Regions from separate parts of the Homo sapiens genome. Here region 2 is linked to region 1. Evidence: promoter capture Hi-C in human tissues and cell types (Jung and others, 2019). All regions are on one chromosome and are shown on one strand. Each heading gives the region's core, a stretch centred on a gene start or on the middle of the fragment in contact. The rest is flanking DNA. Distances are from core to core; before and after follow the strand shown. Region 1 holds the start of EMP1 (epithelial membrane protein 1). Region 2 holds the start of APOLD1 (apolipoprotein L domain containing 1).

Region 1 (5,472 bases), core at 1,236-3,735:
TTTAATATTTTCTCTCCAAACCTAGACATCTCCAAAAGCACACAGGAAGGTGAGATTTATCAGACCCATTTGGAAGGTGATGCTGTCTACTCACTTTAAGGTGAAATGGAGGCAGGCAGATGCCTCGCTCACAGCCACTGCCAGGTAGTAGGCGTGGAAACTGGGCCTCCTGCTTTCTGGGTCCTGTTTTGAAGCCCGTCCCTGAGCCCAGCGTCTCTCTTTGTGAAATCCATGGAAATCCAGATAGACTGAAGGATTCCTCTACTCAAGTACTTTAAGAAAAGTTCCTGATTTTTCCCCTTGTTAAGCCCGAGAAGGAGGTGGGAGGGAGAATGCCTCCCCTCTGCTATTCCTTGGCTCCAGGTTTCTCTTTAAGAAATGCAATCAGACCACATACTCCTCAGCATCTGAGAACACTTCCTCTGGAGTCCAGTTCTCCTTTCCAGGCAGCTGAGGGAAGAGAGACTTTAAAACTGGCAGAGGGCATCAGGGGTGAAAGGCAACCCTGAGAGTAGGAAAAGGCCAGGGAGACAGGCCGATTCCAGCAGGGGAGACTGGCCCATCTGGAGCGCCAGCACATGCCTGGGGATTTCCTGGCCTCACCTGCAGACACCCTCCCCTCCCTGAGGGTTGGGATGCTCAGAGATCACAGGGACTCTCAACCCACTGCTGGGAGTGGCCCCTCTCAGACAGGCATTTTTATTATCAAATGAGCAATGAGAGAGGGGAGAGGTGAGGAACTCTATGAGAAACATGCAGTCTTTTATCACGTCATCAGTTTTCAGTGAGAAAATCCAGACCTTCTTACTTTTACAGAGATAGAATTCAGTTCTCAGGGACTTGTGAAGATGCAGCATCATCAAATCATTGTGTGTGTGTGTGTGTGTGTGTGTTGTGTTTTCCTTATCATCCACCTTAGAAAATATTCTCCACATTCCCATGTTAAAATATTTTTTCCTAAAATCCATCCATCCACATGCCAACATCCTAAAGACAGTAATATAGGTTCATTGCAGAGGATTTGGAAAATACAGAATTGTGACCAGAACAAACTAAACTGCATCCATAATTTTATCATCGAATTTGATCAACATTTTGGTGAATAGCCACCAGTCTGTTTTCTATCTTTTTAGGGAATATAAGTTCCAAGAGGCAGGGATGTCATTCACTTCTGTGACTCAGTGCTCTGAATCAGGCCCAGTGAAGACTGACGTGCAGCCTGTATTGGCAGAATGAATGAATAAATACTACACACGCATATTTTGAATTGAAATAAGTTGTCAGGGTGCAGCAGAGAATAACAGAAATAGAATTGCTTGGATGTGCTGACCTAGATCCAAGCTGCTACTGGTAACGTACTGTATCTCCTTGAATAAGTCACTTCACCTCTCTGGGCCTGAGCTGCTTCTTCAGTAAAATAATCCTTGTAGCTAAGATTTGTTGAGCGCTCACTATGCACACTGCCATGAGCCCCTATATGTGTATTTCTCATCATAGCTCTATGAGTTACATACCTGCCATCTCCATTTTATGCATGAGAAAATAGGCATGGAGAAGTTAAGTGGTTTGCCTAAAGTCACACAGCAAATTTGTGGAGAGCTGGGCTTGAACTCAGGCATCTGGGCTTTTACTCTCTCCAGTGGAATGCCTGGGCTGTGGGATGAGATGACTTCACAGGCCTCTCCCAGCTCCAGAGTTGAGAGAGAGAGAGGAGTGGTGCAGGGAGGTAGTAGGGATGATTATGCTACTGGCCAAGTTCAAGAAAGTCAATTGTAGAACAAGGTCCAGCTGATTATTACAGAGAGCAAAGTTCTTAACTAGAGGACTTCCTCCTGGAATGTGGAGAGTCCACACGGGCACTAGCAGAGCATAATGAAAGACCAGGAATTCTCTGCTGTTCAATCAGTGCTCCATCACTCAGAGGCAGGGCTGCAAGAGCTCCTAGTGTGTCCCCTTCGCCTTCAGGGCCTCCCTGTACAGCCACCCACAGGACAGTGCACCAGGGTCAGGCAGGGAAGTAAATAAAAAAAGGAATCTGATAATTCCTGACAGTGAGCAGCAGCTGATGCTTTTAATGGGGGAGGAAGACTGGGAATCTCGCTTGATGATGACCTAGGACTTCAGTCAGCAGGACACTGGCCCCTTTCCTCCCCCTCCCAGGCTGAAACCTTGTGTTTTGCCTTATGTCCATGGTAACCAAGTCTCCTTTTTGGTGAGGAGGAATGGGCTTCAGTAAACAGATCTATTTGTGTGATCCTGTTACTCATTTGAAGCAATGTCCCTCCTTTTTTCCACTGTGGTCTGTGTGTCTGAGTCAGAGAGAGCCTACAACAGGGTTCTTTGAATTGATGGCTCACTCCCAGCCACTCTTGACTGACTGCCAGCTTAGCAGGGCGTAGCTTACCAACAAATCTTTTTTTTTTTTTTAAAGCCAGACTGATTCATAGAAACTCCTTTAAAACACGGTGAAAAGAAACCGCCCATTACACACCCCAGTACACCAGCAGAGGAAACTTATAACCTCGGGAGGCAGGTCCTTCCCCTCAGTGCGGTCACATACTTCCAGAAGAGCGGACCAGGGCTGCTGCCAGCACCTGCCACTCAGAGCGCCTCTGTCGCTGGGACCCTTCAGGTAGGACAGCTCCCAACGCTGTGGGGACTCTCAGCAAAACTTCTCCTTCCTTTCCACGGCTCTGCTTCTTCTGACCTCATCTTAGTTTTGCTTTTTCTTTTCTTCCTTCGCTATTTTTCTATGATCCTCTAAGAACCAAGTCCTTGAAACTTTTGGCTCAAAGTGGATACAGAGACAACTTTTTCTAGAAAGTTCAGAAAAGTGTATTTTGAGGACGGAGTCTGGGGAAATCAATGGGATGGGGCTAAAATCGTGCCTGGCAGTGACCGGGTTCTTGTTCTAGGATGTGGAGGGAGCAGGGACTTTGAAACAAACTGGGATAGGATCCTGTTTATGGAGGAAACACCACACACCTTGGAAATGACATCGGGAACTGGCCAGATGTTTTTCACCTCCTCCGTTTTGATTCCGATTGCTTCAGGACTTGAACTGTTACTCTGCTCGCTGGTTGTTGGTTGGGATTTTTTGGGTGGTGGTGGATAGATAACTGGTTTTCAGTTTATTTTTGACATTGCTTTTCCTGCCTGTTTGCTTCCCTATTCACTTCTGTTTAAATTTAAGTATTTTTTTTCTCCTCACAGGATGGGAAGAGGGGGATTGGTTTGTTTAAAGAAAACTGTTGGCCGGGCACGGTGGCTCATGCCTGTAATCCTAGCACTTTGGGAGGCTGAGGCGGGCGGATCACCTGAGGTCAGGAGTTCAAGACAAGCCTGGCCAACATGGTGAAACCCTGTCTCTACTAAAATACAAAAAGTAGCCAGGCATGATGGCAGGTGCCTGTAATTCTAGCTACTTGGTAGGCTGAGACGGGAGAATTGCTTGAATCCGGGAGATGGTGGTTGCAGTGAACTGAGATTGCGCCACTACACTCCAGCCTGGGCAGCTGAGTGAGACTCTGTCTCAAAAAGGAAAAAAAAGAAAAAGAAAAAAAATGAAAAAAGAAAACTGTTAGAGAGAGAAAGAGAGGGAGGCAAATGGTGTTTTAAATGAAACGTGGGAGGGGTTCACTTGGTCGAAGCAGGAGCTGATGAGGATTCCAGATGCCTTCTCTTGGCCAGATGTGGAGGGCGGGGGAGGCAAAAGGGAAGCTGGGTTTGGAGAAGAGGGTGGGGCAGGAGAACTTCATCTGTGCCTGTTAAAAATTGTTGAGTGGCTTTGTGCTTTCACCCCAGAAAGAGCTGCCTTTCAGTGCTGAGTGAAAAGATGGCATACCAGAAACGATAAAAGAACTTTTAAAAGAAAGTGGATGTGGAATTTCTTTGCATGGAAGGCAGTGATTGTTTTGAAATGCTTATCTTTTCTCTTGTTCCCGAAATGTGATTGTATAAATGCAAACACTCATGCTAATCATGAAATCTGGAGGAATGAAGAAGGGTGCTTTTTCTTTTTTTTCTTTTTTTCTTTTTTTCGGTTAGCATTTTGGGTGAGTGTCTACCGAGGTGTGGCCCATTTCAACATAGACACTGGTATATTTTTTCCCCAAGTAAACAAGATGAGAATGACAGGATTCAGCTTGTCTGACAAAGTTAGGCTTTTCCTTTAGAAAGGCAGTACGTTGGGAGAGAAGTTACATGTAATCAACCCTGTGTTGAGCAGGCAATGCTCCTTGTAAAACTGCCCCAAGGGGGACGATTGAGTAGGCATCAGGGCAACTTTTCAAGATGAAGGGAACTCCTACATTTGCTTCACATGTTTATTATTTCCACATTACATGGATGTGGATTAGCCATTATTAAATCAATAGTGTTAATATCCTGTGAAAATTATACAAATCTTTTAGTTCTGTGCAGGTTAAAACTAATAACCAGTCAACACACGGAAAGCCCTGACAATGTTGGGAGTGTAAACCATCATGAACTGCATTATTTGTGGCAAGGTTTCACATGATACTGTAGGTTTATAAAGGAGAAAATATGCTACATGTTACTTCCTGGAGTTTGAAGACAATTTAGAAAAATACCGTTCTGATTCCTGCTCTCTGCTCTTCCTCCAAGAAGTAGTGAAAGAGTCCCTTAGCTGTGAGAGTTTTTCTGGATTTCAGCTTTGACAATCCCGAAATGTGAGGGTTATTTTTCCCCCCCACTCTGCCCGCTGCCTCCCACCCTCAGGGGCAGATCCAATTCCACCCAGACTCCGAAGAATGGGGCGGGGGCGGGGGCTGCAGGACATCCTGTCTGGCGCCCTGGTCAGAGGGCCCCCCACATTTACATTGTTTGTGGGTACTAAACTGTCTTGGGAGTTGGCAAAAGGCCATCAAGAACCAACTTGGAGCAAATCACATCCTTAGAATCTGGCTATCTCCCAGGACTGCTGGGCAGACCGCTGGGGAAAGGAAAGAGATCCCTTCTGTGGAGAGTGGAAAGGACTCACTGTGCCTTCCTCAGCCCTTCCTGCTTCCTCCAGAGACCAGATTAGGCCCATCAAGTTCCCAGCCTTGTCAGTGGGCTTCATGGAGACCCCTCACCCGGGAATGTAGACCCTCTTGGCTTGCTCTGGGTGGCTCTAGGGATTTCAGGTAGTGCCAGACCCACAGGGACTACTGGAGAGAGACACGTTGAAGACCGGGGAAAACTTGTGGATGAGGCAAGACTGCTTTTCTGTAGACTCTATGGAGCCTGGTGGGGCACATAACTGAAACGTGGACACAGGAAAGGGCAGGAGGCAAGTCAGTTCCATTTCATCCTTCATTTCGTTCACAGAATTCTAAATTTGGGAGGGATCTTGGATCTCATTCATTCTCCTACTGTATGCAGAAATCTAATTTTTACACCATCTTGAACAGATGGCCATCCTACAGATCTTAAAATTTCCAGATGCGGGGAGCTCAGAACCTCAGTGTG
Region 2 (5,472 bases), core at 1,084-3,583, 410 kb before region 1:
GAGTCACTATGCCCGGCCAATTTTTAAATTTTTTGTAAAGATGGGGTCTCATTATGTCAACCAGGCTGGTCTCGAACTCCTGACTTCAAGCGACCCTCCCTCCTCTGCCTCCCAAAGTGCTGGGATTATAGGCATGGGCCACCATGACTGGCCAAAGTACCAGGTTTTTATGGGCAGTAAAACTTTAGCCCAAACTGTCAATTAACTCAATTTTTTTTGCCTCCATAAAGAGGCAAATACAAAGAAAATGGGCTTTCAACACAGAGAAAAACAAATTCCAAGATATGGGCTGAGGTCAGTATACACGCTGTCTATTTTCCTCTACCTTCTGGTTCTTCATCCCACCTCTGTACTATGATATTGATGCTCTGAGGAAGACCCTGTATCCCAGCAATATTCCTCATCTATAAAATAAAGATTTAATTGTGTTCCTCTAAACCCAAAACACACAGGATGATGTCCAGGGAAGTTAGAGGAACATGTGTCAGCTGAAGAATCAGTGGTATGTTCCCTCTTGTCTACCTCCCCAATTCGCGCTGGCCCACATCCCATTTGGAGTGACCATGTCTATGGAGATAGAGGAGGATATTCTTCCACTTCTAACCTCAAAAGGACACACTGGAGGCATCTAGATTGAGGTTACAGCTATCCTTTGAGGAGCTGTAACAAGAATATTTGGAAGTGGACCAAATCTAGAATAATCAAGTTTGAAAGGACTATGGTTGTCCTTTCTGTTGCTACTGTTGTTATACTGTGTTGATAAATACAAAGTATAGTCATAAAGGTGGGGGATTTAATCATGTTCCAGAATGATACGGCTGTTAAGGCTTTCCAGGTAAGCCAGAGAGTTGAGATAATCCTTATTCAAGTGAGAAACGAATTTGGCCCTCCTTATCTGGAGGAGAGGGTTAGAAGGACGATGGATGGATTTGGGGACATGTAGTAGGACTGAATTCCTAGGCTGAGCTCCAACCACCTCTGAATGCCCCAGAGATATCTATGTTCCATCTGGTCTGGTCTGCAGCAAGTCCACAGAAGCTACATTCACTTTTCTGTGCTGAATTATCAAAATAATTGCCCTTCAGCCCATGCCTCATGACCCTGTAGACAGAATCCACTCATTTCCCTATCACATGGGCTACAATTGCTACTTCAAATGAAAACCTGGGAAGCCAATGCCCTATTGTGGTTGAAAGTGTACAATTAGCTCCTCATGCAGCCTGACCCCACTGATTTTTCTGATGCATGTGACCTGGAGTGTGCCCTTTCTGAGACCGCCAATGTCTTCTCCACAGCTGGAGATGCCCAAAACTGCACGCAGCACTTCCTGTGGGTGTGGCCTTGCATTCTTAGGACTGCAGGGTACCCGCTGCATGCCAAATGATCCCAGGCTCCAGCCACTCACAGATTCACAACGCTTTTAAAAATACAGCAGTGGAGTATGAGCGGCTATGTCAGATATGAGGGTTTTCCACCCCCTCCCTTTTCTTTTAAAATATGATTTTGTAATGGTGGCCTCAAGAAACACTATAATTGGTCAGCCTGGGGTGCGTTTGAAGGCCTTCTCTATCGCGTCATTAGCTATTCTCAGGAAAGGCAGGGTATCCCACTGGGAGAATGACAACACACTTGTTTCAAGTTAGGGAAGAGCCTGTGGTTCTCTTCCTGCGTTCAGGGGAAAGCGAACACACAATGTTCGTTTCCTAAATACGGGATGTGCTGTGCTGGCAGGTCATTTTCCACCATGTCACGTCCTTCTAGATGAAGGCAGCAGGGGTCATGACAGGAAATGGCAAATTCTCAGAATGAGACAAGGCTTTCCCAGGGCAGCCATTGGTTCTCTGGAACTATAAAGCACACTCATCCAGAAACAGCCTCAGATTTTACTTTCCTGGAGGCAGACAGAAGTGAATGGTAAGTGGGGAACCCTGAGGCATATATTCGGGATGACTTTTTCTCATTTTCTCTTTTCACCTGGAAAATTATCCCTGGTGGGTTGGATTATGGAAGCATGGAAGTAAAATTAAGTCCTGTGAATAAGGAGATGAGGATTCTAGACTGGGCTCTGTGAAGAATCAGCTGCTTCTAGAATCTGATGTCTGATGCAGGCAATTCTTCCAGATGAGAATGATTTCTGCCCTGATAGCTCAGTTTTGAAATGCTCTATTTCTATGGCTCATTTGCCACTTTTAAGAAGTTCCTAATAATGAAGAGTACAGTGGACATGAAGGTGGGAATCTGCAACTAGGATGAATATACTTTTCCCCCAAGATGTACAACTTGTTCGTATCTTTGTCAGTCATCTTCAGTTGGCTTCAACGTGGTAGAAGTTGTTGAACAAAAATTTTGGCCACTTTATTTTATTCAACCATTACTCATTTTTAAAAGAAAACTTTCATAACAAAGAGACATAATGGTATTAATTTAATGTGACTTAGTTTAAATCAAGCACCCAGCAAAGACTGATGTTTCTGAAGATCCAAGGAGCCCTAGTTAGAATAAACAGTGCAAATCTCATTTTAGGCTTGATTCTAAGAAAAGAGCCTGGAAGAATCACAAGCAGAAGAGTTGCTTCAGGCAAGCATCTAACTTAGATGTTTCTTCTGCTTGGTAGAAAATACGATTTTTGAGGTTTTGGTGAAGTCTTTTTCATTCATTAGAGAGAGAGAAAAGTGTGTTGCAAAACTCCTAGGATCCAATTTTCACATGATGAAAGGGCTTTGTAAACTGTACAACCCACCACTTACAAAGTGTTATCTTAAGTAGAGCAAAGGCCTCAGTACTGGAGAAGCCTTCTAATACCACGCCCCTCCCAGTTTAAATCTTATTTAACACATAGCTGATGAAGCCCATCGTTAACGTTCCCTGGGAGAGAAGCAGAAGATAGCATTATTCCTATTTCCATATGCAGAGATAAGGTCCTGAGAACTTGTGTGGCTCCCCCCGGATTCCAGAACAGGTCTTTGAGAACTCGTCTCATGATCCACTGGAAACAGACCCGTTCCCCTAGCGTGGCAGTGGCTGCTCCGCTGAACTCGTGCCAAGTTCCCGCTGGCGTCCGGGCAGCAGGGCGGGAGCGGCGGCTGGCACGGAGACTCCAGGCTGACCGCGTGTCTATGTCCCCGCAGGGAATGGAGAGGCCGGCGGCCCGGGAGCCGCATGGGCCCGACGCGCTGCGGCGCTTCCAGGGACTGCTGCTGGACCGCCGAGGCCGGCTGCACGGCCAGGTGCTGCGCCTGCGCGAGGTGGCCCGGCGCCTGGAGCGCCTGCGCAGGCGCTCCCTCGTAGCCAACGTGGCCGGCAGCTCGCTGAGCGCAACGGGCGCCCTCGCCGCCATCGTGGGGCTCTCGCTCAGCCCGGTCACCCTGGGGACCTCGCTGCTGGTGTCGGCCGTGGGGCTGGGGGTGGCCACAGCCGGAGGGGCCGTCACCATCACGTCCGATCTCTCGCTGATCTTCTGCAACTCCCGGGAGCTGCGGAGGGTGCAGGAGATCGCGGCCACCTGCCAGGACCAGATGCGAGAGATCCTGAGCTGCCTCGAGTTTTTCTGCCGCTGGCAGGGCTGCGGGGACCGCCAGCTGCTGCAGTGCGGGAGGAACGCCTCCATCGCCCTGTACAATTCTGTCTACTTCATCGTCTTCTTTGGCTCACGTGGCTTCCTCATCCCCAGGCGGGCGGAGGGGGACACCAAGGTTAGCCAGGCCGTGCTGAAGGCCAAGATTCAGAAACTGGCCGAGAGCCTGGAGTCCTGCACCGGGGCTCTGGACGAACTCAGCGAGCAGCTGGAGTCTCGGGTTCAGCTCTGCACCAAGTCCAGTCGTGGCCACGACCTCAAGATCTCTGCTGACCAGCGTGCAGGGCTGTTTTTCTGAGAACATCCTTTCCCCCTAATGACCGAGGCCAGCAAATCATCCTCATGGGATGCTCCAGAATTTGTAGCTCCCTTAGGAAAACACCAAGCTGGGTTAGGAGCCGAAGGCAAAGGATGAGAAAAACTGTTTTTGAAGTGGGCAGGTCCCCAAAGCCCTTCTTTTCCCATCACTGTGACATCTGCCTGGGCTTGAGTGCTACGGACTTTTCAGTCTTCCTAGTGGAAAAATGTGACCCAAAAACTCTTTTTCCTTTATCAAAAACTTTCTGTCTAAACACAGCTGGGCAGGCACTCCTGTTTTAAAGTTATTTCGGGGTCCCTGACCCTGCCCTGGTGGCTTGGCCTGAGACTGGAGAGAGTGCCATCCTCTGGGTCCTCTCCAAGTCCTACTAGTCTTTGAAGTCCTCAAAATGTGCGTGAGGAAGGCGTTTGCCTCTATTCCAGAATTTCTGATACAAAGAACTCCAGAATCCAGAGCAAATCAGCCCTTCTCTGAACGTTGTAGGATGGTTCAGAACCCAGAGAGGACCCTGGTGCTGATATCTCCTCCTCTTCCCTTTCCCCTCAGCTTACTTACTCCCAGATGCGGCCTGGGTATGAAGTAGGCCTTTCCTGAGTGGCTCCCAATCCAGTCCTCCAAGTACTCAGAGGGGAAGCCCGTGAAGCCGTCATCTAAGTCCTGCTCCCTCACATGAAGCTGAGGGCCAGATAGATGGAGCGACTGCCAACTTCATTTCCCGACATCATTGTGTTCAGAAGAGAGTGATGGGTTTTGAGTTAGACAGTCCTGGGCTTGAGACAGGCTTTGTCACTACTGTGTGAGTGTAGCCACCTAATCTCTCTGAGACTGTGTAAAACAAAGATGATAAAATCTCACCCTGTTGTGAGATATTAAATGAGCCAAAGTGCCTAGCATGATGGTGCTGGCTCATATAGTGTAGTCCCTGGAATGGCAAATTAACATCACCCAGGAACTTGTTAGAAAGGCAAATTCTTGGACACAACCCTCCTGATTTATGGAATCAGAAACTCTGGCTGTGGGGCCCAGCAACCTGAGTTTAAACAATTTCTCTGGGTGGTTCTGCGGCACACTAAGGTTTGAAAATCACTGCAACAAATGCTAACTTCTAATCCCCTTGATGAGCTTTCACGAAGTCTCACGGCTTCTCTAGGGACTCCATGGTCTTCAGAGTCGTTCACAGATGACCAAGGACAGACTGTGTCCCAGAAGCCAAAATGAGAGAGAGAGAGAGAGAGCACGCGTACGTGCACCCTGGGGCAGTGTCTCACCGTATGAACAAGGGATGTAACACTAAAAGCCCATTAGGGGGCAGTGTTTCCCGCCTGTTGTAGAAACTGGTACAGAAAGGAATATGAAGTTCCTGAAACTGACCTTTGTCTATTATTACCTTCTCTGAAAAGTGCCAGTCCATGTATTTTTTATTTATTTTAAGTTTGTAATTTAATTTTTAATTATTGTTTAGTGTTTGCATTTAATTTTATTTAATCACCACATTTAGAAAATAATAAGAGCAAGTTTCTAAATGGGAGACTGCTGAGGCTCTTTGCAAGAGATGAGATTAAGTTTGAGTTTCTAAGGC

What was found. Contacts are between HindIII fragments. The study calls those that stand out against the background at their distance.
Region 2: a fragment that was not itself captured here is called in contact with the fragment with the promoter of EMP1 in region 1 in 1 of the 25 tissues and cell types used here (heart right ventricle).

The regions. Positions count from the first base shown.
Region 1 is chr12:13,194,241-13,199,712 of GRCh38, forward strand. EMP1 (epithelial membrane protein 1) reads left to right here and starts at 2,486. Exons shown (of 5, transcript NM_001423.3): 1 at 2,486-2,632. RefSeq lists an enhancer at 4,526-5,026. The HindIII fragment of the contact is 16,024 bases long and covers 1-5,472 here.
Region 2 is chr12:12,783,781-12,789,252 of GRCh38, forward strand. APOLD1 (apolipoprotein L domain containing 1) reads left to right here and starts at 1,879. Exons shown (of 2, transcript NM_030817.3): 1 at 1,879-1,914; 2 at 3,129-5,472. The coding sequence starts at 1,912. The coding sequence ends at 3,872. RefSeq lists silencers at 3,166-3,265, 3,296-3,405. The HindIII fragment of the contact is 6,568 bases long and covers 1-5,472 here.